3 separate regions of the Homo sapiens genome follow, and all the other regions are linked to region 3. The links are contacts of gene promoters, found by promoter capture Hi-C in blood cells and fetal thymus (Javierre and others, 2016). All regions are on one chromosome and are shown on one strand. Each heading gives the region's core, a stretch centred on a gene start or on the middle of the fragment in contact. The rest is flanking DNA. Distances are from core to core; before and after follow the strand shown. Region 1 overlaps FANCM (FA complementation group M). Region 2 overlaps TOGARAM1 (TOG array regulator of axonemal microtubules 1). Region 3 holds the start of FKBP3 (FKBP prolyl isomerase 3).

Region 1 (4,760 bases), core at 1,102-3,601, 65 kb after region 3:
GGATTACAGGCATGTGCCACCATGCCCAGCTAATTTTTGTATTTTTAGTAGAGATGGTGTTTCACCATGTTGGTCAGGCTGGTCTTGAACTCTTGACCTCAGGTGATCTGCCTGCCTCAGCCTTCCAAAGTGCTGGGATTACAGGCATGAGCCACCATGCCCAGCCTTCTTTTTTTTTTTTTTGAAATGGAGTCTTGCTCTGTCGCCCAGGCTGGAGTGCAGTGGCGCAATCTCGGCTCACTGCAACCTCCGCCTCCTGTGTTCAAGTGATTCTCCTGCCTCAGTCTTCTGAGTAGCTGAGACTACAGGTGCGTGCCACCATGCTCAGCTAATTTTTTTTTTATATTTTTTGTAGAGACGAGGTTTCACCATGTTGGCCAGGATGGTCTCGATTTCTTGACCTCGTTATCTTCCTGCCTCAGCCTCCCAAAGTGCTGGGATTACATGTTTGAGCCACCAGCCTTCTTTTTAATTTGAAAAGTCAGGGATAAAGGAAATAGATTTGGAATAGACAGGAAGGTAACATGGCAAAGGTTATAGAAAAGTATCGGGGGCCATAATAGGGAATACCAATAAAAGGATTTAAGTAGAATATGGAATAGAAAATGAACAAGAAAGGGTAGGGAAGTAATTGGCAAGATGATGTTAAAATGGGTGTACAGGGTATTTGTTGAGTTATTCTTTGGAATAAATACCTAAGATAATTTTATATTAAACCAGTACTTAATGCACCCTTCATCAGAGCTAGCATGAAAAACTAGAGATGAGTAATACAGTCTTGGCCTTCAGGAGTGAATTATCTAGGAATATAAGCTCTTCCTTATTCACCTTTCTACGTTGATTCCAGCTCAAGGCGCTCATAGTTACCCCTATTTTCTTTCTCAGATATTTGAGAAACATTAGTTGTAGGGTTTCTCATTAGCAGAATGTGGCACCAGTTTGCTCAATGGTGTAGATCTTGGGATTTTAATAAAATAAAGTATATTAATAATTCTACTTAATATTAGTTACTGAAGTTTGCCTTTCCCTAAATATGAATATTTAGGAGACACATCAAGGATGTTTAGGAGAACAAAGAGCTATGACAGCCTGCTGACTACCTTAATTGGCGCTGGAATCCGAATTCTTTTCAGTTCCTGCCAAGAAGAAACCGCAGATTTGCTAAAGGAACTGTCTTTAGTGGAACAAAGAAAGAATGTTGGTATTCATGTTCCAACAGTGGTGAATAGTAATAAAAGTGAGGCACTCCAGTTTTATTTAAGTATTCCCAATATAAGTTATATAACTGCATTAAATATGTGTCACCAGTTTTCATCTGTGAAAAGGATGGCTAACAGGTATGTCTGTTGTAATATTTTTAAATGATTACTTTTAAAAGATTCGTAAAAGCATTCCATAGAAGTTTAATGTTAAAAAAATTTAAGCGGCATCATGCCTGTTAGATTATTTTATTCAGTAAACATTTTTTGCCTGCCAACATATATTAGTTACTGTATGAAGCTAAGGGACATTATTCGAAAAAAAGAAAAAAGAAAAAATAGGTGTAGGGATTTCCTTTGAGAAGCTTAGAGCTCTGTGGAGAGACAATAAATAGCAGTTTCCTTTGACCTTGCAATCTAACATTTCTGGGCTGTTCAGTTCTGTAACAAGAAAAATGAGTATTTTACTAGTTGTGATCATTATATTGCTTGAAGAGGGAGATTTTAGAATGTAGTTCATTTTAATTAAAGGCCTACATCAGATACTGTCTTAGCTCATGCTGCAATGATAAAATACACAAACAACACAAATTTATTTCTGCCAGTTCTGGATACTGGAAGTCTGAGATCATGGCTGGGTTCTGGAGAGAGCTTTCTACTGAGTCACAGACTACTGCCTTCTCATTGTATCCTCACATGGCAGAAATAGAGCTAGCTAGCTCTTTGACCTCTTCTTAAAAGTGCACAAGGATATCCACCTTTATCAACTAATTCTCAAAGTTGCCACTTCCAAATACCATCACATTGGGATTACGGCTTCAACATATGAATTTTGGGCAACACAAAAACATTCAGTTCATTGAAGATGTTGAAATTGTTATTCTAGATAATTTTAAGGAAAGGAAACAAGTAGCTCTTTTATCCAAACTAATGTTCAAGACATATCAGCTGGGCGGATAATGCTTGAGATGATTTCCTTAAAGGCTACTGTGTTTGGTGTTCTTTAGGTAATATTAAATTTTATAAAAGCCAAAAGTCCTAGTGTAATGATTTTGTCTCATTTATTTTTCAGCTCACTTCAAGAAATCTCCATGTATGCACAAGTAACTCATCAGAAGGCTGAGGAGATCTATAGATATATTCACTATGTATTTGACATACAAATGTTACCAAATGATCTTAACCAAGATAGACTGAAATCTGATATATAATCAAGCTGCTCAAGATGGGGTTTTCAAAGACCTCTCACAATATTAAATGCACTTCAATAATCATTGCTGTTTTATGTTTATTTGTAAATAAGAGAATATTTTATTTAAATATTTTATATTGTATACATTTTTATTTATAGATTATAGAAATTATTAAAAAAGAAAAATCTGATGTTCAGTGATCATTTTGACTAGATTATAAAACTAATTTTTCTTATTAAATAAAACAAGGTTTATTAAAAGTGTTACTAAGGATAGTTTAAGAAAGTAAAAGCTAAGCTAGAGATATACTTTGGAATGTTTCCCAAAATTAAAGTTGTACTGTTGTGATAAATAGTAAAGTTGACATGTCTATGACTACAGCCAACTTGTCGATTTTCCCTATGTGTAGATAGTATACTTTTAAGTGTACTGATTCTAAATACATGTACTTGGTAAGGTGTGGGTGATGGGTGGGTTGTGAGATAAATGACCCAGTAACTAGGAAAGTAGAAAACTTAACTGAATGTTTATCTGACCAAAGGTGTGTCCCAGTTAAGTACTGTCAAATCTATTAATATGAACTCTGATATGGTTTGGCTGTGTCCCCAACCAAAATCTCATCTTGACTTGTAATCTGAATTATAATCCCAATATATTGGGGAGGGACCTCCTGGAACGTGATTAGCTCATGGGGGCGGTTCCCCCATGCTGTTCTAGTGATAGTTCTCAGAGGATCTGATGGTTTTATAAGCTTTTCCTCTGTTCACTCTGCAGTTCTCTTGCCTACTGCCATGTGGAAAAGGAAACGTTTGCTTCCCCTCCACCATGATTGTAAGTTCCCGAGGCCTCCCCAGCCATGCAGGACTGTGAGTCAATTAAACATCTTTTCCTTATAAATTACCCAGTCGGGTTATTTCTTCATAGCAGCGTGAGAATGGACTAATACAAACTCCCAGCTACATTACTCTTTTTTGTTGCTGAAATATATTCAAAATGGTATATTGGTTTGGACTTAGAAAGTTTCTTTTTAATATAAATTACTGAATGCAGGCCCATTATGTTGACCCTATTATATTTACCGTTTTGATCCATTCTGTTGTCTGTGATGGCATTAAGAAGGCTCTGCTTGGGGCCGGGCGCGGTGGCTCACGCCTGTAATCCCAGCACTTGGGGAGGCCGAGGGGGGCGGATCACGAAGTCAGGAGATCAAGAACATCCTGGCTAACACGGTGAAACCCCATCCCGTCTCTACTAAAAATATAAAAAAATTAGCCGGGCATGGTGGCAGACACCTGTAGTCCCAGCTACTCAGGAGGCTGAGGCAGGAGCATGGCGTGAACCCGGGAGGCGGAGCTTCCAGTGAGCTGAGATCGTGCCACTGCACTCCAGCCTGGGCGATAGAGCCAGACTCTATCTCAAAAACAAACAAAAACAAACACAAACCAAAAAAGAAGGCTTTTCTTGTATCTGCAATATATATGACATCTTTCTTCTAGTCAGTCTAGTACTAAAGCAGCCTTGAATTATGTGAGTCCTTTATTCTCGGCCTCATTTTTACCCCTATTACATTGTTGGGTAGTTGAACCAGCCTCACTGCAGAGCTCTCCTCACCTTAAATCTGGCGGGGACTTCAGAGCTCATGTAATTCAAATCACTTCTCTTTCCTTTCTTACCAAATGATAAAAGTGATGCCCAGAAACAAGTGACTTATTCAAGTTTAGACTGGCAAATCTAGAAGCAGAACTCACAAACTAGGTATCATTCTCTTTCACTCTATGGTGTTGATAAAAGGGGACAAAAAAGTTACTCTAATTGTTTAGCTCCTTTGAGATAGTATCAACTCTCAATTTGTATGAAAGCAGCTGACTTATGTATGCTGCTCAATAATTCTGTCAAAACCACAGAGAGGAAACACTAAGTTATTGCCTAGTGTGCAGTTATCAGTTTATTATAACTGGACTTTTTGAGTATTTCTCCTTTAGTAGTGAGCACAATGCTAAGCTGTGACAGGAGGAAAGGAGCCTCTTTGTGGTTCCACTGTGCTACATCTTCATGTATCTTGCTCCTGCCACATTGTCAGCAGGGCCTGTGGGTAGGGACATCTGGTGGTGCTTTGCCCCAGCTGCATGCCAGAATCATGCAGTCCCTCAACAACCTCACACAGAGATACCACCACCTGCTCAGACTCAGCTGTGTGTGCACCCGTCAGACAAAAAAAAGTACATAAATTAACATGGTGTTACAGACATAACCTAGAGGATTTCATTTATTTATGCTTGCTGTATGGAGAGCTCTATCCATATTTAGGCTTGCAATAGCCTCCTCCTATATCCTCATTGGTAGCCATTAACCATTCATTATCCATCTT
Region 2 (4,715 bases), core at 1,498-3,997, 120 kb before region 3:
TACATTTTTAGCAGCTTGTTTTGTACTTGGAAGTTTTATCTTCCAACAGTTCCTTTGTTGTAATTACCTAGGTAGAATAATAGGTATATTAGCAAAATGAATTTGGAATGACAGCATGGTCTGGTGTTTACATAATGTTATAAGACACAAAATATATTTTTAGCTTTTAGAGCTAAAGTCCTTTTATGATCTTCCATGAAGATGAAAATTTATGTTCTATAATCCTACAGTTGCAAGGTTGTGTAAATAATTTGAAACCTACTTAAGAAGAAAATTTCATTTTATATGATTTGGATACATGATGTCCTGTATTTTCTCACTGAGTTATTCTCTTCAGATACTGAATTCTGTTAGAAGGTAGTTCAGCACACCCTCATTTATGGACTGAAATGCCTTTAATGAATTTAAGATTTCCACATTTAAGATTAGTGGCTTTAGAACAATTATTCTTATCCAGCTTGCATACTGCCTTAAGATTCATGGCCAAAGAAAGCCACTACTACTACCTGATTTAAAGATTTTGTCCTTAGGTGGGTTGGGGAGGAAAAATTGTTGAAAACCACCCTCCTAGAGACTGAAATTTCTTCTTTCATCCAAGTCAACTACACTTAATATAAATGTAGATTCATAATAATCTGTTATAGAGAAATTGCTCTTTCAAAATATTTAACACTGATTTCTCACTAGGTCCACTGACAAATATATTTCTCTCCATTTACTGAGAATTGTACTTCTTTGTAAAATCTATTCTTTTTAATATTCATTACTAACTTACTGACATTGTAACACTTACTGATTTAAAACAGTTCCCTTAAGCTCAGATTTAACATTCTTCAGTTGGCTTTCTTAATGAAAAAAGGCCTATAGGTATTTATAATGTCAGGAAAGTACAGGAAAGAATAGTCTAAGCAGAAAGTGGCATTTACCAAACTTACTCATTGCTGATCTCTTACTTATAATATAGCCAAGTCTGTATTTTTGTGTTATCATATATAAGGATAGGTAGTAGTTAGATAATTAAGAATGATTTGACTTGTTATATTTATTTTCATTTTTTTGAGACAAGGTCTCACTGTGTCACTCAGGCTGGAGTGTAGTAGTTCAATCTCAGCTCACTGCAACCCCTGCCTCCTGGGCTCAGGTGATCCTCCCACCTCGGCCTCTGTAGTAGCTGGGACTACAGGTGTGCACCGCCATGCCTGGTTAATTTTTTAGTTTTTTTGTAGAGATGGAGTTTTGCGATGGTGCCCAGGCTGGCCTTGAACTTCCTGGGCTCAAGTGATCCTCCTGTCTTGGCCTCCCAAAATGCTAGGATTACAGGCATGAGTCACCACACTTGGCCTTGATTTGGTTTTAGAATGGATTCTTGGATCATTTTTTTTTTTCCTTAGGGATTATACAGTATAAGTCAGAGTCATTTTCTGTGGCAATCCTGTCTTGAGTAATTAAGAATTGGCCATATGTTAAAAAGGTTGGTAGTCCAAAAGGTGAACTAAGAATAGCAAAATATATATGTGTGTGTGTGTGTGTGTGTGTGTGTATACACACACACTGTTAGCCATAGTTTTTCAAGTGTCATACTTATTGCTCCCTTATTATCTAAAAGGTCTGTGAGTTAATAAGGAGAATAGACAATATGTGATGTGAGTATTGAACAGCACTAAATCTTAATGTTTATTGAAATTACTTTGTTTCATTGCAGGTCAGACATATTTCCAACATTTGGGTCAAAACCTTGTCCAACAAGACTTTCTTCTGCAAAGAAAAAAATTTCTCATATTGCTGAACAAAGCCCCAGTGCAGGTATTCTATGTCTGTTTATAAAAATAATTTATAAAATATGATTTTCAAATGATGTAAAAAATGATAGCAAGTGCATTTCAGATTTCATGTTGTTGTGCATACTGGTTAAGACTAATCATTTTTTTACTCCTTAAAAGGTCCTTTTGACAGGAATATGATATTGTTTTGGAAGAAAAAAATATTTATTTACCTGAATCATCAATCTCTTTTAAAGCTCAATTGGCATACCTATGGCTGGCTCCTACACCTAGATTTTTTATGTAGTTGGTGTGGAGTGTTATTTAGCTGGTGTTGGCTGTCAGAATTTTGAAAACTCCTCAGATGATTCTAATGTGCAGCATAGTTTGGGAACCACTGGACATCCCGAAAGACAATTTTCTTTAAAAACAATATTAACTGTTAATAGTAGTTAAATTCATGTGTATCTTGTGTTAAGAATTTTTGTGAACTAACCTGTAAGTCTTTAGTTTTATAACATCACTTCTCAGAAAATAGATTTAGTAATTAGTAGTCAATTAGAAAAAGATTTGCACTATGATCTATTTAGGGTGAGAACTGCATGTGATTCTTCATTATGATTAGTAAAACTACGTTGAATTGTGAATAAACTGTAACAAATTGGTATATGATGTTTAGTTTCACATGATCTAATGTAAAAGTCCTAACAACTTTAAGCTGCTTTATATTATAATCACCTTCCTAAAAAACTGTATATGTATTTGATTATTTGCTAAGATTTTAAATTTCTTGCTCTTAAATGTGTCTTAATCTCAACCCCTCTTTGTAATCCCCACTACCATGGCTTTAGTTCACACTTTTCCTCATTTATTACCTACTTAGCCGCCTAAATTTTCTCCCTGCTTCAATCTCACTTACTTTGAAACTGTTCCCCACAGTGCAAATCTGACTATACTGGCCAGCCTGAATTCATTCTGGACATGCTTTCATGATCTGGTCCCAGCCTACCTCTCCAGCCTCATTTTTCACTGCCCTCTTTGTATCTTGTACTTTCCCTGTTTGTATCCAGTTAAATCAGACCACCATCAGTACCATTTCCTATCTCTTTGCAAATGCACATACTGTTTTTTCTGGATGAAATCTAGAATCCATACCACACCCTATTTAGCTGTGAAAAGAGCTCAGTTGCTTTCTCTGGGAAGCCTTCCTTAATTCACAAACAAGATTATTACCTCTTTTGTTATACCATTACATCTTGCACTGACACCTTTTATAATGATACTACAATTGCTTTACTTTTCTTTAACTCTCAGATTCTTGATCCCCAAAGATTATTTCCCACTGATTACCTATCAAGGCTTATCATAATCGGGAATGTGTGACTTAACCAGGTGTGTTTAGTATACTGCCTTGCATAAAACTAGTGTTAACAAAGAGATAGCTGCACTTCTAGGCATACAAAGACAGTATATAAGTGCTTTGGAGTCCAAAAGATGAGCTGACACCCCAGTTTGATGTTTAATAATAGTATTCATACATTACACAACTTACTTAACTGCTTTGGAACTTAGTTCCCTCATCTGACAACATAAACCTTGAGAAGGGTAGTGAAAATCTAAGTTCATGACATATATAAAGCAACTAGTGCATAGTAGGCACTCAATATGTATTTGTCCTCTAAGGGGAGAGAGTGACCCAAAGAAATACATAAACTTATCCTTAATCCTTTTTCAGGCTGATCATCCTAATCTATAATTTTTCAAGTATTTCTGTAAAATTGAAGAGACATCTGATTACTAGATTGTATCTACTTTGTAAAAATGGAACCCACTTTTGGAAGAGTATCTTTGGAAATGGAAAATAATAGATTTTAAAAACCTGGATTTGAGTTCCCTTGTGACCCTAGTCGTGTGACCTTGGGAGTCATTTAAGTTTTAGCAGAGTGATCTCATAATAGTATAATACATACTTATATATGCAATATTTAGTGTTTTCCAAAGTTGCGTAATCTTTTTTTTTTTTTTTTTTTGAGACAAGAGTCTCGCTCTGTCGCTGAGGCTAGAGTGCAGTGGCGTAATCTCAGCTCACTGCAAGCTCCGCCTCCCAGGTTCATGCCATTTTCCTTCCTCAGCCTCCCAGGTAGCTGGGACTACAGGCGCCTGCCACTACGCCTGGCTAATTTTTTGTGTTTTTAGTAGAGACAGGATTTCACCATGTTAGCCAGGATGGTCATGATCCACCCACCTCGGCCTCCCAACAAAGTTGCCTAATTTTAGGAATCACCCTTGAGTGCATGTAACATCTGTTAATTCTGGGGCCTCATCTCATGCCTCATGAATTCATCTTTCTGGTTAGAAATCTGTATTTTTAATAAGTAAATTAGGTATTTCTAGGATCAAGTTTTAGAAATACTACTATTATTGAATTCATTATATTAAATTTAACCTTTTCTCAAAATAAGTTGCTAATGTTTCGGATTTTATATATTTGGGTTTGCTTTGTTTTCAGTAAACAAGTGATTCCTACAAATTTATTGTGGCTTAATTGGTAAAACATAAAAATGATAACGCTCAGAATAAAGACTATTGGATGATAAACACAAAAATAACAATTATTTTAAAATTCCACCTATGTTCTGCCACTACCTATTAAAGCAAATTGTGCTAAATTTTCTGAATGATATTACAGTAAACTTCTTCTAGTATATTAGATTAGTGTTGCCTATTAATAGAAAACATTTCCACCCAAAGCCAGTATGTTTATGAGTCTTATTTTATGAATTAACTATCAAGACAGAATTTATAAAGATAATCTGTGTTTTCTACAAATTCTCTATGATTTAATATTGGATATTCTTGAAACTTTTCTCTGTGAACTTACTTAGTGCCCTTTATTCTACAGTCCTTTCTAGCTTGTTGCCCCAGCTACCTCCTCTTCCTACCTTCCTGTTTTTA
Region 3 (4,917 bases), core at 716-3,215:
GCCTCCCGAACAGCTGGGATTAGAGGCGCCCACCACCAGGCCCAGCTAATTTTTTTTGTATTTTTAGTAGAAATGAGGTTTCGCTACGTTGGCCAGGCTGGTCCTCAATGCCTGGCCTCAACTGTTAGTCAGGATGGTCTCGATCTCCTGACCTCGTGATCCGCCCGCTTTGGCCTCCGAAAGTGCTAGGATTACAGGAATGAGCCACCACGACCGACCGAGACTATGCATTTAAAAGATTAATGTTATAAAAACATTTTGATAATCCAAGTCTGTTGAAATTCTTCCACGTGGCCCAGTTTTACATACGATTCCACATGGCATGATTTGTTTCATAAGAATATGATGGATGAAGTACATGACTGAGGTATTATTAAATGTTAATGATGTCTATTCTATTGTTTCAGATGAAATACGAATTGGCTTAAGAGAAAATAGTTCCATTAAAATGGGGTAAGATCCCCGACACATGTTCTTTTTCACCCTTGTACCTCCAAACACTGAGAATAGTTCTTGTTACAGATGTTGTATTAATATCTGCTAAATTAATCTAAGATGCGGATGCCAGGATAATAATTAAGGAAGAAGGCACTGGAAGTTGGAGAGTTCTTCTATCTCCCTGTCATGACGCCCGCCCAAAATGAAAATAAAATATAAGCTTCTCAAAATAACCCAGAAATAGTGGCTCACGCCTGTAATCCCAGCACTTTGGGAGGCCGAGGCGGGCGGATCACGAGGTCAGGAGATCGAGACCATCCTGACTAACACGGTGAAATCCCGTCTCTATTAAAAATACAAAAAATTAACCTGGCGTGGTGGCACGCGCCTGTAGTCCTAGCTACTCGAGAGGCAGAGGCAGGAGAATCGTTTGAACCCGGGAGGCGGAGGTTGCAGTGAGCCGAGATCGCGCCACTGCACTCCAGCCTGGGCAACAGAGAGAGACTCCGTCTCAAACAAACAAACAAAAAAACCCAGAAACAGTTTTTCTAAATGAAAAGTTTAGAATTTTAAAAATTGTATAGAAAACACAAGCAGGCTGCCGCTTGTAAGAGAATGCTGCGTGCACAACTATTTCAGCAATTTAACAGGTGCATGAATGAACTTATTTTCCAAAGGAAAAACAAGTGTAACAAAAATAACTTGACTATAGACGGATGGTTAAGATGGAGACTATGCTGACAAATGGAGAGCCTACAGTATAAAGCATTTCAAATAAATTTCTTAGTCTGTTTATAACAATGACAGACCACTGCACAAGAGAAATGTGCATGTAGCTCCCTTAAAGTATAAAGGTGAAAAGGTCATTTAAAGGGTCGATATGTTAAATCAAAACTTAAACCACAACCTACGGATTTTTTAAAAATCACACGCATTAATGTTCAGTATTTAGTAAACTGTTGAGAAAAGCAAGTTGGATACACCGTTCCCACAGAAATCTTCACATCCCTTCCCATTTCCCTAGTAGCCGGCGCCCCGCTCCCAGGAGTCTCATCCACACCACTATTCCTCGGCCTCTCCGCCCTAGCCCCCAATATCCTCGGGTTCCTATTTTTCTGGCCTCCACCCCCACTCAAGGATCCCAATGAGGTTCTAACTCTACAATTGCAGCCTGTGTGCCCCAAGAAATAAAGCTGCTCCCCTGCCCCAGTAGAGAACGCCCGAGAGGCGGGAGCGAGGCACCAAAGCACAAGCTGGGCCTCTCCGGCCTTCCAGGCCACCGGCCGCGGGAAGACGAGGGCGGGGGCACAGAGGAATACGGAATGTATGGGCATCTCCAGGGGGGTGAGGCGTCCCTCAGCCGCACCAGCCCGGCCGCCCCTACGCCTCTGGTACCGAATCTGAACCGTGTTCCTGCAGAAACTTGATAATGTCCTTCTTGGGCAGCTGCTCACTGCGCAGCTGCTCCACGGTCCACGCCCGCTGTGGAACGGCCGCCGCCATCTTCCCCCGCTGCCTCCGCTTTACTGAGCCAGCCCGCCGCAGTTCGGCATCGCCCCGCCCCCTAGGGCGGGGCGGGGCCACTCACGGAGGTCGAGGGGCGGGCCTCTGCTCTAGCAGTCGGGATTGGGGCCTGTCTTTGAGTGACGTCAAGGCTGTGCTATGAGGGCTTCTTTGTTGAGTCCGGGTTGAAAAACCTACCGCGGTCGTCTCTGCAGTCGACTGAGTAGAAGACCGCTAGAGATCTTCGATTCTGAATTAGACACCTTGTGAAGCGACCTCTGATGGTAGCGACATTTATCAACCATTACCCACATTTAAGGCAGCTATGCCTTTAAAGTCCAGTCTATAACCTGTTAAAAGAAAACAGCATTCAGGCTCCTTATCTCGTTTTATCTAGTTCTAGCCTAAAAAGTCACACCTGAAGTGCTTCAGTCCTTGTCGATCCGAAAACCCATATCCCACCATTTCCCTTTTAAAGATCACACAACCGAAACTTAAATACAAACTGCCCATCCCCTTCCCCCCATACAAATACGAGAAAGTTTGTCCAAAACGAAGTTCAGAAACTTTAACAAATAAAACAATTTATAAAGAAGCCGCACTCAGGATGCCACTTGCTGATGAGAATGACATTATTAATGCTCGTAACTCTGTGATGTATATTTTTTTCTCAGTACACGAGGAAACAAATTTACAGAGGTTACTCAAAGTCAGGTTTAGAGAGAAGTCAGGAATTATTTGAGACAGAAATCTTCGTTAGAGTGGAATAATTGCACACCGACGTTTATTATAATGCTCTTACCTATAATAAAGATTTAATAGTTGAACATCAGGACTCCTTACTTAAAAAAATGTAGGCTGACTCTGGGCATGTTGCCTATGAGTTAGCTCTGCTTTGCAAGGAGCATTAAAAAAAAAAATTCTGACGAATAGCTGGACCAGACCACGTTCACTTCCCTTTAAACAATGAAAATATTAAAATAATGGGTTGCCACTCCCAGCGCGGTGAAAAAGAGACTTGGCATTTTGTTTTCTCAGCCCAGATAGAGATATAAGACAAATTATTCCATCTACACATTTTTGCTTTTCACTTTATATTCTGATTTAAAAGTACAAGGAATGAGGCACGTTAGACGCTCAATAACATTAAGTTCCCAAACTGGTGGCTATTCCATTGTCCCCGGGTATGTAATATTTTACAATAAATCTCTATTATAACATTTTAAGTGATTTATCACGTTAGCAATGACGCCCAGCCATCTAATCATTGGAAACGGAACTTAAATTTAGAGTTTGTTAAAACAAAACACCGGAACCGCACCGGGGACCATATTTAGAGTAACGCCTTAATAATGCGCATGAGTCTCCGGCAGGGCTGTGAAGGTTTCCGGGAAGCCAGCCAATCATTCCCAACGGAAACTCAGTAGCGGCATTTTCAACTGGATAAACTGGCCTTAGTCCCGCCTTCTCGTTCCAGAGTTTTGTGCGAAGGAAACCGATGGGGATCGGAACCGTAGCGGTTGAGCTGCTGCTGCTACGGATATCTGACAGAAGCCTTCGGTGGTTGTCGGCCTAATGAGCGGACGGCAAAGAACGCTTTTTCAGACGTGGGGCTCAAGTATCTCCCGATCATCTGGGACTCCGGGTTGCAGCTCCGGAACTGAGCGACCTCAGAGCCCTGGCAGCTCCAAGGCGCCTTTGCCAGCAGCAGCGGAGGCTCAGCTGGAGTCGGACGATGATGTGTTGCTTGTCGCGGCGTACGAGGCTGAGCGGCAGTTGTGTCTAGAGAATGGCGGGTTCTGCACCTCCGCGGGCGCCCTGTGGATTTACCCTACCAATTGCCCAGTGCGGGACTACCAGCTGCACATTTCCCGGGCTGCTCTGTTTTGCAATACGCTGGTGTGTCTGCCTACCGGACTGGGAAAGACCTTTATTGCCGCCGTGGTCATGTACAATTTCTACCGCTGGTTCCCTTCAGGAAAGGTGGTCTTCATGGCCCCAACGAAACCCTTGGTGACACAGCAGATCGAGGCTTGCTACCAGGTGATGGGTATCCCGCAATCCCACATGGCCGAAATGACAGGTATCTTAGACTGGACTAATTTTGAAGTAAGAGCTGGGAATTCCTGACCCATGTGGAATAGTTCCCAAGCTACAACATGTGCATCTTACGCCCTCCCTCTTAAAACATTCTCTACTTGCAGCAAGCCCAAAACTGATGAATAGGGTTGCTTTATTCAATCTTCAGAGAATATCTGCAGCTTGTCATAGTATTTTGAAGCTATTATGTGCGTATACCCCATGGGTAACTGAACATGATATTTCCTGGCATTCTTCCTGAAAAAGATTTCTCAGTTGAAGAATTTGCCTCTCTTCAAATATGCCATTTTGTAGGAATTTTCTAAAGACAATTTGGTTGTAGTCCTAGATAAGTGCCAGCTTTGATATTTGGACCACACCAGAACTTTAAAATGTAGCATTCCGATGAATTGTCAAATTGTTTTTCTCTTAATGTTACCAAAGCATGTTTGCATTCTGAAAAAGCCAGACTATTTATATTTTATAGATAACAGTCTGAAGTTTAGAATGTAGAATGTCACTTTTATTTTCAGGGTCTACACAAGCTTCCACCAGGAAGGAAATATGGTGCAGTAAGAGAGTGCTTTTTCTTACACCTCAGGTCATGGTAAATGACCTTTCTAGAGGAGCTTGTCCCGCTGCTGAAATAAAGTGTTTAGTTATTGATGAAGCTCATAAAGCTCTCGGAAACTATGCTTATTGCCAGGTAATAATTTTGTTAAACGGTATTTTGTATTGTAACTGTACTGTTAAAGAGAATTTTGGCGAATAGTTACTAGTGATGGAAGTTATTGACAATATTATTATAAAAAGCCTTTACGTCTATTATCTCAGAACAGATGGTGATAAAGAATATCTGTACTTTCTGTCATCCATTCAAATCAGTGTCTTCACTGC

The links. The method cuts DNA at HindIII sites, captures the fragments that hold promoters and counts their contacts. A CHiCAGO score of 5 or more calls a contact.
Region 1: a contact is called between a fragment that was not itself captured here and the fragment with the promoter of FKBP3 in region 3, in 14 of 17 cell types (fetal thymus, monocytes, naive B cells and 11 more). The highest score is 11.7, in fetal thymus.
Region 2: a fragment that was not itself captured here is called in contact with the fragment with the promoter of FKBP3 in region 3 in 6 of 17 cell types (activated CD4 T cells, total CD4 T cells, non-activated CD4 T cells and 3 more); the score reaches 10.1 in activated CD4 T cells.

The regions. Positions count from the first base shown.
Region 1 is chr14:45,197,599-45,202,358 of GRCh38, forward strand. FANCM (FA complementation group M) reads left to right here. Exons shown (of 23, transcript NM_020937.4): 22 at 1,046-1,337; 23 at 2,272-3,292. The coding sequence ends at 2,410. Among named protein-coding and RNA genes, the nearest start is that of MIS18BP1, 53 kb to the right of the region's middle. RefSeq lists an enhancer at 809-1,328. The HindIII fragment of the contact is 1,579 bases long and covers 1,563-3,141 here.
Region 2 is chr14:45,010,273-45,014,987 of GRCh38, forward strand. It overlaps TOGARAM1 (TOG array regulator of axonemal microtubules 1), which reads left to right. Exons shown (of 20, transcript NM_001308120.2): 7 at 1,703-1,803. Among named protein-coding and RNA genes, the nearest start is that of TOGARAM1, 50 kb to the left of the region's middle. The HindIII fragment of the contact is 9,107 bases long and covers 1-4,715 here.
Region 3 is chr14:45,132,516-45,137,432 of GRCh38, forward strand. It overlaps FKBP3 (FKBP prolyl isomerase 3), which reads right to left and starts at 1,966. Exons shown (of 7, transcript NM_002013.4): 1 at 1,834-1,966. The coding sequence starts at 1,941. FANCM (FA complementation group M) reads left to right here and starts at 3,415. Exons shown (of 23, transcript NM_020937.4): 1 at 3,415-4,024; 2 at 4,554-4,726. The coding sequence starts at 3,517. RefSeq lists enhancers at 1,164-2,035, 1,723-1,942, 2,036-2,906, 3,569-3,618 and a silencer at 1,912-2,089. The HindIII fragment of the contact is 3,907 bases long and covers 657-4,563 here.